Linked DNA regions of Homo sapiens: region 1 is linked to region 2. The links are contacts of gene promoters, found by promoter capture Hi-C in human tissues and cell types (Jung and others, 2019). All regions are on one chromosome and are shown on one strand. Each heading gives the region's core, a stretch centred on a gene start or on the middle of the fragment in contact. The rest is flanking DNA. Distances are from core to core; before and after follow the strand shown. Region 1 holds the start of HEPN1 (hepatocellular carcinoma, down-regulated 1). Region 2 overlaps MSANTD2-AS1 (MSANTD2 antisense RNA 1).

Region 1 (5,295 bases), core at 2,746-5,245, 84 kb after region 2:
ATCCCTTTGAATAAACTTTCTACCCTCATCTCTCGATTTTCTCTTGAAGGCCCAAAACTCTTAGATTTGCCCTTTTGAAGTTATTTTCTTGATATCGTAGGCATACTTTCATTCTCTTCTATTCTTCTTCCTTTTGTCTCCTATAACTGTGTATTTTCAAATAGCCTGTCTTCAAACTCACTAATTCTTTCTTCTGCTTGATTAATTCCACTATTAACAGATTCTGATGTGTTCTTCAGTATTTCACTTGCAGTTTTTAACTCCAGAATTTCTACTGGATTCTTTTAAATTATTTCAATCTCTTTGTTAAATTTATCTGATAGGATTCTGAATTCCTCTCTGTGTTCTCTTGAATTTCTTTGAGTTTCCTCAAAACAGCCATTTTGAATTATCTGTCTGAAAGGTCACACATCTGTGTCTCTCTGGGATTAGTCACCGGTGACTTATTTAGTTCATTTGGTGAGGTCATATTTCCTGAATGGTCTTGATGCTTGTGGATGTTCATTGGAGTCTGGGTTTGTTTGCACCCTTCCTTCCTGGGAAGGCTTTCTAGGTATTCAAAGGAACTTGGGTGTTGTGATTTAGTTTTTGGTGACTGCAGCTGTATCTGCATTAGGGGGCACCCCAAGTCCAGTAACACTGTGGCTCCTGCAGACTTGAAGAGATACCACCCTATGGTCTTAGATAAGATCTAGAAGAATCCTCTGGATTATCAGACATAGACTCTTATTCTCTTCCTTTTCTTTCTCCAAAACAAGCAGTCTCTCTCTCCTCTCCTCTCCTCTCCTCTCCTCTTCTCTCTCCCTTTCTCTCTCTCTCTCCTTCTCTCTCTGTTTGTGCTGAGCTGCCTGGAGCTGGAAGAAGGGTGACACAAGTATCCCTGTGGCCACCATCACTGAGACTGTGCTGCGTCAGACCTGAAGCCAGCACAGCACCAGGTGTCACCAAAGGCCTGTGGTAACCACTGTCTGGCTACCAGCTATGTTCGCTCAAGGCCCTAAGGCTCTAGAGTCAGCAGGTGGCAATGCCAGCCAGGCTTGTATCCATTACTTCAGGGTGCCAAGTTTCCACCAGTCCTGGGCAGGTCCAGAGATGTCACCTGGGAGCCAGGGCCTGGGGTAAGAAACTTTAGGAATCTACCTGGTGCTCTATTTTACTCCAGCTGAGCTGGCACCCAAGCCCAAGGCAATGTCTTTCCCACTCTTCCCTCTCCTTTCCTCAAGCAGAGGTGTCTCTTCCCTTGGTCACCACTGCCCCAGGCCCATGGTCAATACTGCCTGGCTACTGCTGATGTTCATTCATGGATCAAGGGCTCTTGAGTCAGCTTATGAATGCTGCTAAGCATAGGACTCTCCTTTCTAGGCAGTGGGCTCCACTATGGCCACTAGGGCAGGTCCAGAAATGCCATACAAGAGCTAAACCCTGGAATTGGGGACCCCAAGAGCCCACTTGGTTCTCTACCGCACTGAGGCCACACCGGTACCTAAGCTGCAAGACAAAGTCCCCTTTATCCTTCCTTCAACTTTTCTCAAGCAGAAGGAGCCCCTTCCCATAGCCACCACAGCTGGAAAGGTGCTTGGTGACATCTGAAGCCAACATGTCTCTTAGTCTCACCCAAGGCCAATGGCAAGTACTGCTTGGGTTCTATTGCAAATTATTGAGGGCCCTTGGGCTCTAGAGAGAGCAGGTGATGAATGCTGCCAGGACTGGGTCATTCCCTTCAAACCAATGGGTTCCCTTCTGGCCCAGGGTGTCTAGAAATGTTGTCTGGGAGCTAGGGCCTGAAATGGGGGACTCAGGACTCTGTCTTATGCCCTATCCTACTGTGGCTGAGCTTGTCTTATGCCCTGTCCTACTGTGGCTGAGCTGATATCCAAGTTGCAATACACAGTCCTGTTTACTCTTCCTGCTCCTCTCCTCCAACCACAGAAAGGAGTCTTTTTCAAAGCTGCAAGCTGTGATGCCTGGTGTTGGCAGAGGGATGATGCAAGCACTCCCTTGGCTGCACCAGCTGGTGTCTCACTAGATCATATGCTCAAGTCCACTGGCTTCAAGCCCAGCACAGCATCAGGAATCCCCCCTAGAATTGCAGTCCTTGTGTCCTAGACAGACTTTTAAAAGTTTATTTAGGACCCCAGAGCACTTTAACCCATGGTCGTGAGTCTTTTTGGAATTCAGGTTCCAACCACTGGGATGTGTAATTCCTCTCTGGCGAGGGCTGGTCTAAATGCTCCTTCTGTGGGTGCTGGCTGAGTTCTGCCTGGTGTTGTTTCTCCCTGTGACAGGGCAGCACTGCGTTCCAATGCAAAGCCCCACAATGACTGCACTCTCCCTCCCGCAAGTGCAGAGATTCTCTCTCTGTTCCATGCGGCAGCTGCCGGGTGATGAGGGAGGGGTGGTGTCAGCAATTCAAGACTGTCTTTCTTACCTTCTTCAGTGCCTCTTTCAGTGATATGAAGTTAAAACCAGGTATTGTGATCACTCATTGGATGTTTGGTTGTTATGAGGGTGCTTTTTTTGTGTGGACAGTTGTTCAATCTGGTGTTTTTGCAGGAAGACAATCAGTGAAGGCTTCTATTCAGCCATCTTGCTTCACCTCCCTTGGTAATCTCATATTTAATGAGTGCTAAGTACTTTGAGCTCACTGTGCTTTTAAATTTTGTTTTACTTCTGACTGCTTAAAAATTTCCCCCATCTCTGGCAGGGAAGTGGCTCATGCCTGTAATCCCAGCACTTTGGGAGGCCAAGGTGGGCGGATCATGAGGTCAGGAGTTTGAGATCAGCCTGGCCAACATAGTGAAACCCTGTCTCTACCAAAAATACAAAAATTAGCTGGACATGGTGGCACGTGCTTGTAGTCCCAGCTACTCGGGAGGCTGAGGCAGGAGAATCACTTGAACCCAGGAGGCAGAGGTTGTAGTGAGCCTAGACTGCGCCATTGCACTCCAGCCTGGGTGACAAGAATGAGACTCTGTCTGAAAAAAAAAAAAAAATTCCCCCATCTCTTGAAGCCAGCAATGCAAAACAAATATCATTTAAGCAAGACCTAGTTGTTTTGAAACAGGAAGACCTCTCAAACATCTAGTCTCAAGTATTTAGCAGAGAAGTTCCACATATCACTTTTTACCTGTTGCAATCTGGCTTTAACCCCTACTACATGTCTGAAACTACTTATGCCAAGTCACTCAATGTTTTCATTGTTGCCAAATTTAACATGCACTTTTAACTTCATTTCATATGTGAGCCCCCTGCCCTTGTAGTCCCGAATGCTCCCTTTTTCTTGAAACTCTCTTGTTCTTTTGATTGTGTGATATAGTTATCTCCTATATATTCTCCTATCTTGCTGGCTGTGCCTTTTAAGCCTTCTTGGTGAAGTCCTTTTAAATTTTCTACACATACTGATGCCTCAGAAATCTATCTGCAGCTTTCTTCACCTTCTACTTTGTATACTTTCCTGAAATAATTTCATCAACTGCTAGGCTCAGTACCCTGAATTCCCCCCCATCGTGTCTTGCACTTCCAAGCTTTTATACATGCTTCTCCCTCTGCTTGGAGTGTGTCCTCTCATACTTTTAAAAACCAGATTAACTAACAAGTCTTTCTAAGAAAGACTCAACTCAGGTCTGTTCTCCTCCAAGATGCCTTTGCTGACATCTAATCTACATGCTCCCAGAGCACCTTGTATCTACTTCTGCCATTGCATTTTACACACTATATTGTAATCTGTTTACTGATCTGTCTTCCTGACATAGTTATGCTGTATCAGCAGTGTCTAGCACAGGGCCTAGTCCATGGTAGGTAAACAAATGTTTGTCGAATAAATAAAAGAACACCTGAATAAGTAAATGAATGAACGGGTAAGTGATTTTGGAACGGACAATTTGGGGTTTGGAAAGAGGGTAAAGGAGGTGAAAGGAGAAGAAGAGAAATGACTGGTATATTTAAGCAGCTTGTTTTGTTACCCTTGTTTATGTGGAATAAAGTTGTCATTTCATTTCATCAAAAGTTTATTGAGCATCCAGTATGTGCTAGGCACTCTGCTGGATGCTAGTAATACAAAGATGAAGATGAAAACAACACAAAAACAAACCCCACTTCCTTACTTACCCCTCCCCACCCCCAATTTAAGGCAGATTTGGCTTAAGCCTGGCAAGCTGGCCCCTCAGGGATTCAGCACCAGGGTATGGCATGTTCTCATCTCACCCTAACCTTCACCTGTGCATCTCAAGGCTGACCAGCAGGTACTCCTTATCCAAGTCCTGCTGCCTCTTCCACCTTCTTGAGAAACTTTTCCCCTACATGCATTATCTCATTATGGATGAGGCACCTGGGAAGTTTAGGGGAGCTGCGAAGGCACACCTGCTCAAATGAGCCTGGGGAAGTGCCGAGGGACAGGGAGCTGAGACAGGCATGCTGTGGGGTTCAGGGCAGAGGGGGCAAACTAGAAATGTCAGTGCCTTTGGGGCTGAGACAAAACTTGACCTGGTGTGGAGGTGATGGGTAACTGGGGCCTTGGAATTGCTCCATGGGTTGATGGCGAATCAGAGCTGGAGTTTAGGAGACTAGGGATGCAAGGACCCTTGGAGGCATTAAGGAGGAGGGAATGGAATACACAGAGGGCCTCCTTCTCTTTCAGCTTTTTAATTGCCCTCTCTCCTCACACAGTAGATTACTGCCACTCCTATGAACTGTTCAATAGGCGGTGGCATGGGCATGTCCTGGCTACACAGCGGCCCAGCCTCTTTATTTTGATGTTAGTGTGATTAGGGAGTCTGCCCTTTTTCTGTGCCCTGGGACCTGAGCATGTGGGAGCAGGGCAGATGGGTGGCAGGAGGCCAGGGGTTGGATCATGTTCCCCCCAAATGCTGGGAAGCAATAAGCCTCCTCCTCCCCCCACCATTTCTCTGGAGATTAGGACTTATTCTCACAGCTGGAGGAAGCTCAACAACTTTCCTGAGGACAATGATTGTTTGAAAGGCTTGTTTTGTAAGGAAGCCAGGAGGAATATATGAGTTTGATGAGCTAAAACAGTTCCTCATTTGGTCTAGTTTTCGGGCCAGGGGAGTAAGTGAAATTCACTTCTCTATAAGAATAAGCCCATCCATCTCTTTTATTCATGAACAGAGACAGAAAGAGTGCTTGGCATGGCATGCCTCCGAGGGAGGCTGTGGGAGGAGGCCAAGCTGGCAGGCTCGGGTTCTTTGCCCTTGCTAGCGCCCAGGTCAGAGGGAAAAGGAATGTACTCGTACCCTTCCCTCACCACCTTGTAGGTCCCCAGGTACCAGGTGCCCAGGG
Region 2 (5,305 bases), core at 940-3,439:
TGCGGGCTCAGTCCCACAAGGCTGCCCCACTTCAAACGCCAGTCATAACCACAGGCTGTAACCTGTGCTTCTGACCAAGCAACTATAAATTGAGGTTTTCAGGGCCCTCACCTTGGGTTTGATTAATTTGCTAGAGTGACTCATAGACCTCAGGGAAACACTTTACTTACACTTACCCATTTATTACAAGGATGTTACAAAGGACACAGATCAAGAGCCAGCTGGAAGAGATGCACAGGGAAGGGGTGCGGAGCTCCCATGCCCTCTCCAGGGCACCACCCTCCAGGCACCTCCATGTGTTCAGCTATCTGGAAGCTCCCCAGACTCTGTCCTTTTGGGTTTTCATGGAAGCTTCATTATGTAGGCATGAATAATTATATCATTGACCACTGGTGACCAACCCAAACTTCAGATCCTTTCCCTTCCCCAGAGGTTGGAGGGTGGGGCTGAAAGTCCCAGCCCTCTAATCATGGCTGGGCCACCATTTACCTCATTAGCATACAAAAGACTCCTGTTGCTTTAGAGATTCCAAGGGTTTGGGAAGCTATATGTCAGGAGACAGGAGAAGACCAAATATATATTTCACAGTATCACACACACATACTCTCTTGATCACAGGTGAAGTTTTGCCCAAAGCAACAGAAGTGAAGCAAGCTTCTATTCTCACAGAGGTTTGGGTCCGGTAGATACTAATAACTTCTATTCTCTGATGCATTGTAGTAGGGCAGACATTAAGCATTTCATGTGCATTTTTTTTTTCTTTTTGAGACAGGGTCTCACTCTATCTCCCAGGCTGGAGTGCAGTGGCACTAACACAGCTCACTGTAGCCTCAATCTGCAGGGCTTAAGCGATCCTCCCACCTCAGCCTCCTGAATAGCTGGGATTACAGGCATGCACTACCATGACCAGCATATTTGTATTTTTTGTAGAGACGGGTTGTTACTATGTTGCTCAGGCTAGTCTTGAACTCCTGACCTCAGCCTCCCAAGTAGCTAGGAATACAGGCACATGCCACCACAGCCAGCATATTTTTGTATTTTTTGTAGAGACAGCTTACTGCCATGTTGCTTAGGCTGATCTTGAACTCCTGAGCTCAAGGGCTCCACAGGCCTTGGCTTCCCAAAGTGCAAGGACTAAGGTGCAACTGCCACACCCAGCCTTTCATATGTATTATCTTATTTAAGCTTCACTTTACAAGTGAGAAGGGCAGCCTTGGCTCAGAGAAGTTAGGTGACTTGCAGCAAATCACATAATTGCTAAGTGATGGATCTGAGCTTTAGCCCCAGGACTATCTGACCTTGGGTCTAAACTTATACTACTGTATTTTTCGTTAAGTCAGTCAGAGTTCTATCCTTTGACAGAAAGTATAACCTTCTTTTAAGGCAGAATAAGACCCTCTGCCCAACCCTGCTCTTTCTTTCTCCTCCGCACTAAGAAGACAGCGAATACAGTAGAGGGTTTTGGACTGGGATAGTGGTTGCAGAGAAGATCTGGAACTAAAAATATGGACCAGGGGTAGAAATGGTGGTGATTCCACCAAACTTGGAAACACTTAACAAGACCCCATAACATGCAAGATATGCAAGAAATGGGGTACATTTTCTATACCAGTGCCTTAAGTAAAAAAATTCCTTGTTAAACAAATGATTTAGAGAAGACAGAACCAAATATATATATATAGCTGTGTGTGTATTCTAATAAAGGTTGTTAAAGTCTTAAAGTTAGTGGTGGGAGAAAACAATAAAAAAATATGAAATCTCCCTATGTTAATAAACTAATTTCAAATACCAAGGGTTGGTTTTTGGTTGGGTGAGTCTGTTTTTGCCTTGATTAAAAAGAAGTGATTTTTTTCTTCAGCCTAGTTTTCCTGGTATGAAAGGCAAGAAGGAATGACATTCCATAACTGTTATAGAGGTGAAAACAGTTTTATTTATTGGTGGTCATTACCGGCCTATAACCAGGGCACAACCTTCTTGGTAAACATTTACCAAGCATTAGTGGAAGATGATTCACTAACTTTTAAAACTCTCCTTCCCTTATATGCATATTAATACCACGATATCTTTAGCTTTTAAGTCCATATATACAGGCACAGGTGCGAATAAATTCAAACATATCACTTGTAGTGGTTTACATAAGGGCTTGCTAGTTCAAATGGGGTTGTTAGTTTTGCATCTCAAATTAGTTCCTGTCAACCCAGCAACTAAAGAAAATTCCTTTGTGAAAAAAGTTTCCAGGCATGACCCAGTAATTGTTTTAATGGATTTTCAATGAAGGGTGAAGTACCATGCTATGTAGCCTGTGGGCATTCCATAAATATATTTTGACTGATTCTGTTAACAAACTACATAGAAAAAACCAAATACTTACTATCCAATCCTCTTATATTGTTTCCCATAGGCTCTGTCTGTTAGTGTATTTATAAGCATTTAAAGTGTATAAGGGAGCTCTGGCAGTGAGAGTGAATTGCCCAATGCAGAGAAGCACTCTGGGCTGGAGGGTTTTACTTAGTCTAAGATTTTCTTTTTTTTTTTTTGTGAGACGGAGTCTGGCTCTGCCGTCAGGCTGGAGTGCAGTGGCATGATCTTGGCTCACTGCAGCTTCCGCCTCCTGGGTTCAAGCGATTCTCCTGCCTCAGCCTCCCGAATAGCTGGGAGTACAGGTGCATGTCACCACGCCTGGCTAATTTTTGTATTTTTAGTAGAGACAGGGTTTCACCATGTTGGCCAGGATGTTCTCGATCTCTTGACCTCGTGATCCACCCTCCTCGGCCTCCCAAAGTGCTGGGATTACAGGCGTGAGCCACTGTACCAGGCTACTTAGTCTAAGATTTTCAGTGTGCACCTGAGATTTGCCCTTTCCAAAATGAGGAAGAGGCCTGAAGCCGATCAGCTGAAAGAAGTACTAAGCCCTGCAGGCTGAAAAGGTAATGTCCCACCTATGCTGGAGGACCTGATGTTGGTATAGTCAATTTTCTGTCTTCTATGTAAGGTATAGATCTGCTCTGATCTTGACATTGTGAAGAAAGCTACTATACTGTCAGAATCTGCTGTAATATAGCCCTGAGATGAGAAAGGTGTGTAGAACAGAAATCTTCACTGCCCTTCTCCCAAAACATTCATTGACCCCTCCTGTAAGATATATATATATATATAATTATTATTTTTTCTAGACAGAGTCTCGCTCTGTTGCCCAGGCTGGAGTGCAGTGGTGCAGTCTTGGCTCACTACAATCTCAGCCTTCCAGGTTCAAGGTTCCCAGGTTCCCAAGCAGATTCTCGTGTCTCAGCCTCTTGAGAACTGGGGCTACAGGCACACGCCACCACACCTGGCTAAGTTTTATATTTTTAGTAGTGATGGAGTTTTGCCATGTTGGCCAGGCTGGTCTTGAACTCTTGATCTAAGGTGATCCGCCAACCTTGACCTCCCAAAGTGCTGAGATTACAGTCATGAGCCACCGCGCCCGTCCTGCATTCTTGCTGTGTGTGTGTAACCCTTGCTATAGTTATATAATTTAGGTTGAATTTAATTTATACGTTGACTATGATCTGAGGGTCAAGATCATTTGGGATAAAGGAGAGATCAACTACATGTCCGTATACTGCAAGTTAGAATTTAGTTAAGAAGGCCCTGAGTAGATTCCAGAATTATAATAAAGCTTTCATTTTTAGTTTGAGGAAACTTCAATATGGGCGACAGAACAAAGAACTCGGGTGGTAGGAATTAAGTTGGTAGGAATTAAGAGGGTGCCTGCCAGACGGGCTGGAAGTGAAGGAAGCCATGTGCCTGCAAAGCTGTTTAGGGCTGCCATGTGTTTATGCCCTGGCAGAAACCTCTGGTTAGAAGTTAGATCGCTTACATTTTTCTTAAGTAACCCATTTTGTTACATCCATATGTTTTCCCTCTTTCCAGAAGGAAAAAAAAGTATCAGCGAGCCCTTCCTCACGGATCAGGAAGCTCAAGGGATTACTCAAGTACATTGGCGGCAGTTACAAAGATATTTTCTTTTTTTTTTTTTTTTTTTTTGAGACGGGGTCTCGCTCTGTTGCCCGGACTGGAGTGCAGTGGCGCGATCTCGGCTCACTGCAAAGCTCCGCCTCCCGGGTTCACGCCATTCTCCTGCCTCAGCCTGCCAAGTAGCTGGGACTACAGGCGCCCGCCACGACACCCGGCTAATTTTTTGTATTTTTAGTAGAGACGGGGTTTCACCGTGTTAGCCAGGATGGTCTCGATTTCCTGACCTCGTGATCCACCCGCCTCGGCCTCCCAAAGTGCTGGGATTACAGGCGTGAGCCACCGCGGCCTACAAAGATATTTTCAAGCATTGTTCTCCCTACCCCAAATTTCTGAGTCATTTAAGTAGAGAAACAGCTCTTTTGCCCTGGCTCATATATGAAAAAAGTAGAATTCAGGCCAGGCTTCAAGTCTAGGGATGATTCTCATTAATGAGGTTAGGTCTGCCACCTGGTGGTGAGAAATAAAATGCCACTTGATTTTCTCATCTGATCTGTCCATATACCACACTTAAAAATTCCACTTTGCAAATCCATCCTTAACCTCTGACTCGGGTTGTGCTTGCCGCCAGCCAAAAGTTCCCAACTGATGACAACGGCACCGACACCTTGGGGAGAATTTTTAGGCAACCATCTGGAACTCATTCCCTATGAACACATTTGAAGTGTTTTAGAACACTGGTAGGTGGTTCTACAACACTTCAAATGTGACTTAAGGTAGATTTTAGGAGAACAAGGTTCTCCTAAAGAGGAAAGATAGCACTAATTCATTCATTAGTACACAAACTATTGTGTAAAAAAAAACTATGCTCTTCAATTTGTAAACAAATGTGTAAGACAATGCCCCGCTCCATCAGTGACAAAGAGATGGGAGTGGATAACCAAGTTAGGCTGGGAAAATAAGAGTAATTCTTGCTTCCCGTTGAAAGGCTGAGGAGAGTGCAGAATCATCTGAAGCCATTAGGGGGAGTGCTAAGTCTTCAGAAACACACACACACACACACACACACACACACACTCGAATACTAGAATATGAATTCTGGAATATGTCCACAATTATTTGGGGATTTGGCCTATGGATCCCTCACAGAGGGTGAAGATACCCAAGTACCCTGGAGAGCTTCAGCTTCCAGTAACCTCCTCCAGCACTGAAGACTTCAGCTCCTTCCTTTTTTCACCTGCCCCTATTTTCCTTTCCTTGTAGGCCAGTACTCTCAAAGTGTGGCCCCCAGTATCACCACTGTCACCACCTGGGAAACTTTCAGAAATGCAATATCTCTGCCCGTACCCCA

What was found. Contacts are between HindIII fragments. The study calls those that stand out against the background at their distance.
Region 1: the fragment with the promoter of HEPN1 here is called in contact with a fragment that was not itself captured in region 2 in 4 of the 25 tissues and cell types used here (H1 embryonic stem cells, IMR-90 fibroblasts, adrenal gland and 1 more).

Annotation. Positions count from the first base shown.
Region 1 is chr11:124,915,255-124,920,549 of GRCh38, forward strand. HEPN1 (hepatocellular carcinoma, down-regulated 1) reads left to right here and starts at 3,996. Exons shown (of 1, transcript NM_001037558.4): 1 at 3,996-5,295. The coding sequence starts at 4,497. The coding sequence ends at 4,763. HEPACAM (hepatic and glial cell adhesion molecule) reads right to left here. Exons shown (of 7, transcript NM_152722.5): 7 at 3,951-5,295. The region is part of intron 1 of LOC107984406 (a long non-coding RNA gene); the gene reads left to right. The HindIII fragment of the contact is 7,901 bases long and covers 430-5,295 here.
Region 2 is chr11:124,832,696-124,838,000 of GRCh38, forward strand. MSANTD2-AS1 (MSANTD2 antisense RNA 1) reads left to right here. Exons shown (of 5, transcript NR_103862.1): 5 at 191-1,792. Among named protein-coding and RNA genes, the nearest start is that of ROBO3, 30 kb to the right of the region's middle. The HindIII fragment of the contact is 4,862 bases long and covers 1-4,620 here.